3 separate regions of the Homo sapiens genome follow, and regions 2 and 3 are each linked to region 1. Evidence: promoter capture Hi-C in 16 types of primary human blood cells and fetal thymus (Javierre and others, 2016). All regions are on one chromosome and are shown on one strand. The core of a region is centred on a gene start or on the middle of the fragment in contact, and the rest is flanking DNA. Distances in the headings are between cores, read along the strand shown.

Region 1 (3,490 bases), core at 440-2,939:
AATTTCCCCGACTTTATACTGCCAGTAAGTGGCAACGCTCAGTTTGACAGAGTCTAGCTCCAGAATCCATGCTCTGAAAGTTTAGTCCCCAAGAACCTATAAAAAGTGCAAGGTTTAATCCAACACACTGGTTTTCCCCACTCTACAATCACTACGTGGCCTCAGCCTCCTTCTCCCACCTTTAAAGCATTTTTTGAGTTCCTCTAACAGTTCACACTCCTCTGAACACTCTCCTACAACTTTCCTATTTTTCAAGCCTTTTCTTCTCACTTTTTTTTTTTTTTTTTTTTGAGACATAGTCTCGCACTCTCATCCAGGTTGGAGTGCAATAGCGTGATCTTGGCTCACTGCAACCTCTGCCTCCCGGGTTCAAATGATTCTCCGGCCTCAGCCTCCCGAGTAGCTGGGATTACAGGCGCCCGCCACCACACCCAGCTAATATTTGTATTTTTAGTAGAGATGGGGTTTCACCATGTTGGCCAGGATGGTCTCGAACTCCTGACCTCGTGATCTGCCCACCTCGGCCTCCCAAAGTGCTGGGATTACAGGCGTGAACCACCGCGCCCAAACTCTTCTCACCTTAAACATCACTGACAAAATTACAAACTCTAATGGCACTGCCGTATTTGTCAGCACTCAACACAAAAAAATCATAATTATATATTTCATAGGTAATTATTTGCTTCCTGTCTCTCTTTTCCAACAAAGCTGTGAGTTCCAGTATGTCTGACACCATGTCTGTCTTGTTCTTGGTGTATTTCCACCATCGAATTCCTACTAACCACTGCAAAGTAAAGGCCTGGCACAAAGTAAGGTCTCAAAAAATTTTGTTGAATGAAAGAATAAATGGTGGACATTCAAGCCTCAAGCTTTCTCTTTCTCTGACACGTACCTCTGCTGGCTACGCCCCCATCCCCACCACCACACCCTTAACAGTGGAGACTTAGTGCGGTACTGGCTCTGCAAAGAGATATTACTTGGCTCTGGGTGGGTTATTTCCCCTCGTCATCCTGAGTTTCAGGTGCACAACAGGGATCACACCAACCCCCTAAAGAATGCAACCTACAAAAGAGAGAGAACCTACACCTCTCATCCTCGTAACCCATCGAGGCTGGAGCTACTATTTGCTTCATGTCTGTCTTTCCAGCAGCGTTTAGCTCCAAGAAGCCCAAGGCCTCGTCTGTCTGGCTCAGGGGCCTGCTCCCATCGACGATACCCAGGCTGGCCCCCTGCCTGGCTCACAGCAAAAGCTCAGAAACGATTCGTTAAATAAATGAAGCCCTGCTCCGTGCACTTCACAGGTGGGAAGCGAGGGTCGTGCGAGGCGGGGGCTGCATCCCTGCCAGCCTTGAGCGTATTCTTCAGATGCAGGCCCACCTCCCACCTAGGCCCGCGCCCCAGATGCCGGCCCCGAACCCCGCGCCCGACAGGCACCTCTTGCACAGGGAAGCATCTTCGCAGGTGCCGCGCACGCCCTCGTCGTCTGCGTCGCAGCTCGAGGTGGAACAGCAGGAGGTGATAGAGGATTCCCTCTGCCTAGTGGCCATGGGCGTGGAGGTTCCTGGGAGCTGTGTCCGCCAGGGACATGGAAGCGGGGTCGACGGGCGGCGGGGGACGGCGCGAGCCACAGGGAGAAAGCAACAGAAGAGGGTAGGGCCCTACCTGGCTCAGCTGGCGCGGCTCAGTGACGCCGCCCACGCCGGCTACCCCAGCAACCTCTCCGCTTATTGGCTCCTCTTCCGAGTCGCTCATTGAGCAATTCTCCTGCCCGCTCAGCCTACGAAGTTGCTCATTGGATAATTATTTTGGCACCGCCCACATAACCCGGAAATTTGACGATAGGAAAAAGAAACTAAACAGTAGGAGAGTATCGCAATCCTTTCTGGGAAGCGTAGTCTTAGGTGTCTGGAGAAGTCGCCCGGTTTCTGCTTGCTGGTCGCGAAATTTTATAGCTATAATTAACTCAGGGCGGAACAGCTAGCAGAATCCTCAGCGTTCGGGCAAAGGGCAGAGAATCCAGCCAGAAGCAACATGTGTAAGTTGTTACATTCAGTCCGGGCTCAGTGTCATTCAATTTTACAAAATTTTGTTGTGTGCTGACTCTGCCAGCGACTGTGCTGAGGGCTTTGCCCCCAAAATTGCCTTCGAAATGTAGTGAGGGGGGCGGGCGTAGTGGCTCACTCCTGTAATCCCACCACTGTGGGAAGCCGAGGCGGGCCGATCACCTGAGGTCAGGAGTTCGAGACCAGCCTGGCCAACATGGTGAAACACCGTTGTTACTAAAAGTACAAAAATTAGCCGGGCGTGGTGGCGGCCGCCTTAGTCCTGGCTACTCAGGAGGCTGAGGCAGGAGAATCGCTTGAACCCGGGAGGCGGAGGTTGCAGTAAGCCCATGTGGCGCCACTGCATTCCGTCCTGAGCGACAGAGCGAGACTCCGTCTCAAAAAAATAAATAAACAAATAAATAAAAGAAAGAAAGAAAAGAAATGTAGTGAGGGAAGTAGTGTGTGGAAAAGTAATACAATAGGAAGCCATGTAGCAGCGATCATAAATGAACTAGAGCTACCAGGTAGCAGCATCAATGGCTGAATCTCAGAAACACGATGTTCAGTGAAAGAAGGAAGTCTAACAACACTTTTGTAAAGTTCAAACCAAGTAAAACTAATGTTGTTTAGAGAAACGTACATATATGGTAAAATACTGTACAGAGAAGGCAAGACATGAGAAAAAAAAATAAAAAAGAATCAGGATATTGGTGATCTTTAGGGAGCCGGGAGGGTAGCACACAAGAGGGGGAGGGAGAGGCAGGGAAGGAGCACATAGACACATCCTCAGTTTCTCACGTGGGAGTGGGTTCACGTGTGTCTGTTTCATTATGAGGCATATTCAAGATGTTTTGGATTTATTTTGTACTAAATCTAGTACAAAATATATGTATAAATTCAAGATGTACTGGGGAAGTCGCCTGGTTTCTTGCTGGTGATGAAATTTTATAGCTATAATTAACTCAGGGCAGAACAACTAGCAGAATCCTCAGTGTTCGGGCGATTGGCAGAGAATCCAGCCAGAAGCAACCCTTGTAAGTTGTATATGTATAATAATGTTTAATATACATTATAAATTAAAAATGTCTTTGTATATTCCATTTTGTTATCTGTCAGTTGTTGGAAGCAGGAAACAGATATACTTTAAGAACTTTGAATTGCACTCATTTTTTTAAAAAGAAAATCAACAACAGAAACCCAGAATACACACCTTGGAGTGAGGTCAAATATCAAATGCTAGCTCAGTATTCTAATGGAGGCACAAGATCTCATTGATAGCCACAGTAGAAATGACAAGAGGGGAATGACTAAGGGTGGAGAGCTTTGCCAGGGGGAATGCTGATGGGATGAAATACACCATTTTCTTGGAGTGGTCCTTTGCCAAAAGGGTAATACAAACTATTGCACAAGCATCATCTCCCAGCTTAGCAGTGTCCACATTCCAC
Region 2 (3,490 bases), core at 253-2,752, 2.4 Mb before region 1:
TTCTTTTGAGACAGTCTCACTCTGTTGCCCAGGCTGCAATACAGTGGCATGATCTTGGCTCACTGCAACCTCTGCCTCCTGGGTTCAAGCGATTCTCTTGCCTCAGCCTCCCCCAAGTAGCTGGGACCACAGTTATGTGCCACCATGCCCAGCTAATTTTTGTATTTTTAGTAGAGACAGGGTTTCACCATGTTGGCCAGGCTAGTCTCAAACTCCCGACCTCAGGTGATCGCCCACCTTGGCCTCTCAAAGTGCTGGGATTACAGGCGTGAGCCACCCCATCTGGCTGTGTTGACATTTGTACTTATGACACAAAGCAATGGTGGGTAAAACTGCTTGCAGTCTGAATCAAGGCAATGTTACCACAATGTACTAGAAACCTTCCCTCCTTCCTTCCTCCCTCCCTTCTTCCATCCCTCCCTTCTTTCCTCCTTCCTTTCTCTCTCCTCTCCCTCCCTTCTTTCCTTCCTTCCTTTCTCTCTCCTCTCTCCCCCCACCCCACCCCCTGCTCTCTCTCTCTCTAGACAAGGTCTTTTTGCCCAGGCTGGAGTGCAGTGGCACAGTCATGGCTCACTGTAGCCTCAACCTCCTAAGCTCAACTGATCCTGAGTGGCTGGGACTACAGGCACGAGCCACTATACCTGTCTAATTTTTTACTTTTTACAGAGATGGGGTCTCACTAAGTTGCCCAGGCTGGTCTTGACCTCCTGGGCTCAAGTGATCCCCACACCTCAGTCTCCTTAGCAGCTAGAACCACAGGTGCATGCTACCATGCCTGACTATTATTTATTTATTTATTTATTTTATTTATTTATTTAGTAGAGATGGAGTCTCACTATGTTGACGAAGCTGGTCTTGAATTTCTGGGCTGAAGAGATCCTCTTGTCTTGGCCTCCCAAAGCGGTGGGACTATAGGCGTGAGCCACTGAACCCAACCATCAGGACATTCTTAAATAAAAATAATTGTTTGTTTGTTTTAAATGTGAGTACATGGCAGTAAATAAAATAATAGACAAATTTTGGTTATTCAGTCTTGGGAATTTGGCAGAAATTTTCTCAAATATGAAATAAGTGAGTCTGTCACTTCAAGGAAACAGCTGACAATATTTGCTGCCAATGTTAAAATTCAAGCTGTCAAGTGAAAACAAGTTGAAAACTTGTTTCCATTACCTTGAGTTTGATAGTTTCCTAATACTTAAACTCCTTTTTAAAATGAAATAGGTGGTGATATTAACAAATGTGATTTTTTAAATACCGTATAATGGCATCTGAAAGGTCAACGTTTAGATTTGCATAACTCACTGAACCAACATTTTCTAAACGACCAATGGCTGATGTTATAAAACCATATATGGGTAAAGCAGCCAATGAAAGGGCAAGATAGACCAATGGATTTTAATGTAACACAGTATAAAAGTTCACCTATAAGGCTTCAGATGACACACTGTGACTAACATTTAAGAAACTGCCACTTGTGGCCTGGCATGGTTCTTCATGCCTGTAATCCCAGCACTTTGGGAGGCCAAGGCGGGCGGATCACCTGAGGTTGGCAGTTTGAGACCAGCCTGACCAACATAGAGAAACCCCATCTCTACTAAAAGTACAAAATTAGCTGAGCGTGGTGGCACATGCCTGTAATCCCAGCTACTTGGGAGGCTGAGGCAGGAGAATCGCTTGAACCCGGGAGGCGGAGGTTGCGGTGAGCCGAGATCAGGCCATTGCACTCCAGCCTGGGCAACGACGGCAAAACTCCCGTCTCAAAAAAAAAAAAAAAAAAAAAAAACTGCCACTTGCAGGCCAGGCATGGTGGCTCACGTCTGTAATCCCAGCACTTTGGGAAATGGAGGCAGGCTGATCACCTGAGGTCAGGAGTTTGCGACCAGCTGGCCAACATGGGGAAACCCCATGTCTACTAAAAATAAAAAAAATTAGCTGGGCATGGTGGTTCACACCTGTGATCCCAGCTACTCGGGAGGTTGAGGCAGGAGAATCGCTTGAACCCAGCAGGCAGAGGTTGCAGTGAGCTGAGATCGTGCCACTGCACTCCAGCCTGGGCGACAGTGAGACTTTTTCTCAAAAAAAAAAAAAAAAAGAAAAAAGAAACTGGCATTTGCTAAATTTTGTATAGTATGAAAGGAGAGTGTCTACAGTTATCTGAAAAGGCAATTAAAATGTTTCTCTCTGCTCCAATTATATATTTGTATGAGGCCAAATTTTCTTCATACACACCAGCCAAAACAGCATAACAAAAAACAGTTTGAATCCTGAAGCAGAAATGAGAGTAGTTTTTTCTATTTCTATTGAATAAACTTGAAAAAACATAAAATAATGCTACTCTTCCTATTAATTTTTTGGAGGCAAATGTAATTGTTTTCCATTAAAAATATTATTTATGTTCAGAAGTAATGGGTTTATTGTTGTTGGAGTTTTTTTGAGACAGGGTCTAGCTATGTTGCCCAGGCTGGTCTTGAACTCCTGAGCTCAAGCAATCCACCCACTTCAGCCTCCCAAACTGCTGGGATCACAGGTGTGAGGCACTGCACATGGCCAATTATTATTATGATTATTATGAGCCACTGCACCTGGCCAATTATTATTATTATTATTGGGTTTTTTTGAGACAGAGTCTCGCCCTGTTGCCCAGGCTGGAGTGCAGTGGCAAGATCTCGGCTTCAAATGATTCTCCTGCCTCAGCCTTCCAAGTAGCTGGGATTACAGACATGTGTCACCACGTCCGGCTAAGTTTTAGTAGAGACAAGGTTTCACCATGTTGGCCAGGCTGGTCTCGAACTCCTGACCTCAAGTGATCCACCTGCCTTGGCCTTCCAGAGTGCTAGGATTACAGGCACGAGTCCATGCCCGGCCCAATTTTTATTATTTTTAAAGGAACTAATTAATGGACATCTTAAGATTTTCCCAGTTTAAATCTTCGATATGGTAAATATCATAAATATAAATAAACAAAGCTCTTTGAGGTAAGAGCATACAGGGGTCCCAAGGCTTAAAAGGTTTGAGGACTGATGTTCTATAGCAACATTACATTGACCTTTCCAGAAGGCAAAATGGTAAAGCACATTTTATAGTACCTCTAAAGTACAAAGGGAAAAGATATATTTTAAGCATATGACAGAATGTTCAATTAAAAACATTTTCTCCACACTACATTCAGTGAATATAAAAAGAATGTGGATTCCCCAGGAACAAATTCCCGAGAAGTGAGGGACAGTGCTGTAATTAGAAAAATGATCTGGACTCTAGCCCAGACCCTACCAGTCTCTCTAGACTTTAGTCTTCCCATCTGCAAAGTGAGATATCAGAATAGCCTATTTTCCATTTGCTTCCAATTGTCAATACCATGACTCTAATCAGGGATCCCTAAATGGGGGCCCACAAGCTGTCTCTGGCCTTCAGAGTGACTGGCCAACCCTGTTTTTGAGAAGTACCCCAAGAGGACAATCAGCTGGTGCTTGGTGAGCAGCTTTCCTTTCAG
Region 3 (3,490 bases), core at 1-2,500, 2.3 Mb before region 1:
CCTCCTGGCTTTGAATGTCCCGCACCTGGTCTTCTGCCTTCACTGAGCAGAGACGTCATTCCTGCGGCAAGTCCTAAGTTCCCGCTCCCCAGGGCTCCTCCACCAGGAATGTTCTTCCTTTCCCATCCTTCAAGGCTCAGCCTCCACTGACCTCCCCACCCTCCTCTCCTCCACATGCACAGGGAACTGGGTTGGCCTCTTACCATCCGACCCGTTCCCCGTGCTTCATGAGAAAGATGCAGCGACAGCTCATGGGGTCACCTGGCTTGACTGCCCGACCTGCTACGTCCCAGTTGAGTCACCGAGGGAAAATCACTCTACCTCTCGCAGCCTCATTGCCTCATCTGCGAAATGGGCACACCAGCCATTGTTTTGAATGACTGGGTGGAATCAAGGTGGTAAGACATAGAAACTGACACAGAATGGGTCCCATCAGGCTCTACACCCATGCCCGTCACCTCCCGACTCAGCCGCCCAGAATCGGGTGATTGACATGTTATGTTTGGCTTGAAACTGGCTTTCCTTCCCCAGCCCGCTACATTTTGGAGGCTGGTTTTCAAGATAGAGGGTCGTCTCAGCCACATCCCTGCTGCTGGGCCCCTAAGCTGTGCTGAACAAGAGACCCCAACCTCATTTCTGCCCAGCCTCACTGCATGAATCTTCTTTGCCTCAGTGTCCCCAATTGTGACTTGGGCACAGTCCTCCGAGCCCTCCCACTGTGACACTAGATGCAGCAGGCAGGGAACAGTCCCTCCTGGGCAGAGAAGGCACCCTGGTCCCAGCAGAAAACCAGGGCTGGAATTACCTTCTGTTTCGGCTTCTTTCTCAGAAATCCATTCCGTGTGCTGGGGGCAGTCTGATGGGCTTCTGGGGGTGGCAGCTGGGTTCAGCGTGGGGGTGACAGATGAGGGTCTGAGAAAGCAGGCAGAGGCCTGGGGTGAGAATCCACACCCAGCCCGAGTCACCAATCAGGCTGTCATAAGACCTGTCACTCTGATGACGGGCAGCTGGGCCTCCAGGCAGGTGTCCCACAGAGCAGCAGACAGAGGAAAGAGACGGCAAGGAAGGTACCAGGCGGCCGCAGCAGGGATGCACGGGCCGCAGACAGACAGACACAGCTGCGTGGCTGTCAGCCACACTCAGGGAGAGGCAGGCAGAGGGCCAGACGCCGAGCTTACGGTCACTCAGCAGAGAGACGCCAGTGGGTCTGTCTGAGGCCGCTGGCTGCCACCCAGCCGCATGTGCAGAGTGGGGAGGAAGAGGAGGATGTGGTGAGCCGCTCCCCGCCAGCCCCGCCCACCCGCAGCTGGGCTCCTCCTGGGAGGGAGTGAGAAAGAGGTGGGAGGGGGCCTGGCCCCACAGCAGGCACCCACTGTCACCAAAGGTCACCTGCAAGTAAGACATTTGGGGCCATCGGGGTGACACTTCCCTCTTAGGGACCTGTGACATCATCCCCACAGGCCTCTCAGTCATAACCCATGAGGCAGGCAGTGCCTCCTGGAGCCACCACATTGCACAGATATGGAAACTGAGGCCAGAGGTGTGAAGATGTGGCACAGTTTCACCCGTGGACCCAGAGTCCTCAGTGGCCGACTCCAGCCCCTCAGCACAGAGAGAAGGACCAGAACCTTGCCCAAGGTCCCACGGAAGCCCCTTTTTCAGACTTTGCAAACCAGCCTGTTTCTTATTCCTGAGCCTTACCTGCCTAATAGGGTCTGAGCTTGGGACCCTCTGCTCTGGCTTGACCCCCATGCCTCTCTGCCTCCATTTCCTTTGGATCCAGTCTCCTGCTGCAGAGCTCCAGGGAGCAGGACCCCTTGGGCACGTCACATCACCTCTCTGAATGCCTCACTTTGCCCATCTGTCAAATGGGGGCACCTAGCTATGAGGAAGAGGGCAGACATTAACACATGAGAATTCAAGAAGAAAATAGAGAAAAGAAATTCTCAAGAGAGTTTTCATCTTGCTAACATGCCAGAGGCCCATGAGAGGGTCAGATGTTTCTGGAAGACATTCAAGAAACCAGGAGACAAAATGTAACAAGCTTAATGCCTAGTGCAGTCTCCAAAGGAGAGCAAGAGAATTGCTACCACCACCACCGCTACCACCACCACCACTACCACTGCCATCACCACCACCTCGAATTACTTTGGTGCCTACATGATCTCACTTTATCCCACAAAGTGTGAGGCAGACAAGATTAGTCCCATTTTACAGATGGAGAGACTGAGGCCCAGAGGAGTGAAACGTCACACAAGCCAAGAAGAATTAGAGCTGGGATTTGAACCTGGGTGTGTTTGATTCCTAAGCTTATACCAGGCTGTGAAAACGGGGCCATACCAGGATGAAATGTCCCACAGTTGGGGGAGGCTATTTTATGCTGTTTTGATAACAAGATGCAATTTGTAGCTCTCCCTGCTGACTCATTTTTGGGAATCAACTTGCTGTTGACTTTCGTGACCACTCCAGAGAAAAAAGAGAAAGCGTCTTGCTATTCTTTCTTTCTTTTTTTTTCTAGCTGTTTTTGAGGAACTTGGTACAAATTCCCCTGTGGTTGATTTGAGGGATCCTGGCCCTGTAGAGCTCTTCCCAGCTACCGAAGTGTGTCGTGTTCTCTGGAGAACGAACCTTGGGAAGACACCAGCTTTTGTTTTTCTTTCTCTTGATCTTCGGGGTGAATTCTCTGATAACATGCACTGAAATTTGTAGTGGTTGAAAGATCAGGAGAAGAGACAGTAAAAAGAGCTAATATTTGCTGAAAGCTCATTGTGTGCCAGGGTTTTAAGGACTTTAAAGATGCACCCTCTCATTTAAACCTCAGAAATACTCGAGAAGGCTGTGTGCAGCGGTGCACACCTATAATTCCATCATTTTGGGAGGCTGAGGTGGGAGGATCGATTGAGGCTAGGAGTTCAAGACCAGTCTGGGCAACATAGCAAGACCCTGTCTCTATAAAAAAATTTAAAAATTAGACAGTCATGGTGGTGCACGCCTGTAGTCCCAGCTACTCTGGAGGCTGAGGTGGGAGGACCACTTGAGCCAAGGAGCTGAAGGCTGCAGTGAGCTATGACTGTAGTGCTGCACTCAAGCCTGGGCAACAGAGCAAGACTCTGTCTTCAAAAATAAAATCCCCAAAATGAAAAAGAATGAGTCTAGAAGATAGTTATCATCATCATCATCATCGTCCCTGTTTTACAGATGAGGAAACTGAGGCTCAGAGAGGTTAAGTGACTTGTCCAAGGTCACACAGCTGATGAGTGCCAGAGTTGGGATTTGAACTCAGTCATTTGGGCTCCAGAGCCCGCACTCTTAACTCACTACACTGCTCTGGGGTGTGTATGAAAACAAGGATATTCAATTTCTCCTCCCTCCCTCCTGCCTGCCTTCTTTATCTACCTGCTTTCTACCCACCCACCTACCTATCCACCCATTCATTCTTCTCTGCACCCACCCACCCAGCCATTCCTTGCTTCCTCCCCCTAATATTTAT

Evidence for each region. The method cuts DNA at HindIII sites, captures the fragments that hold promoters and counts their contacts. A CHiCAGO score of 5 or more calls a contact.
Region 2: a fragment that was not itself captured here is called in contact with the fragment with the promoter of LCMT1 in region 1 in 1 of 17 cell types (naive CD8 T cells); the score reaches 5.9 in naive CD8 T cells.
Region 3: the fragment with the promoter of IL21R here is called in contact with the fragment with the promoter of LCMT1 in region 1 in 2 of 17 cell types (M0 macrophages and non-activated CD4 T cells); the score reaches 6.9 in M0 macrophages.

Annotation. Positions count from the first base shown.
Region 1 is chr16:25,109,941-25,113,430 of GRCh38, reverse strand. LCMT1 (leucine carboxyl methyltransferase 1) reads right to left here and starts at 1,689. Exons shown (of 11, transcript NM_016309.3): 1 at 1,435-1,689. The coding sequence starts at 1,547. It overlaps LCMT1-AS1 (LCMT1 antisense RNA 1), which reads left to right and starts at 1,876. Exons shown (of 3, transcript NR_120306.1): 1 at 1,876-2,035. RefSeq lists enhancers at 1,382-1,541, 1,632-1,961, 1,739-2,266. The HindIII fragment of the contact is 2,890 bases long and covers 872-3,490 here.
Region 2 is chr16:27,550,980-27,554,469 of GRCh38, reverse strand. All of the region lies in intron 1 of KATNIP (katanin interacting protein), which reads right to left. Among named protein-coding and RNA genes, the nearest start is that of KATNIP, 2.6 kb to the right of the region's middle. The HindIII fragment of the contact is 4,528 bases long and covers 1-3,490 here.
Region 3 is chr16:27,399,934-27,403,423 of GRCh38, reverse strand. IL21R (interleukin 21 receptor) reads right to left here and starts at 1,250. Exons shown (of 9, transcript NM_181078.3): 1 at 806-1,250. RefSeq lists enhancers at 619-738, 631-1,173. The HindIII fragment of the contact is 2,346 bases long and covers 1-2,046 here.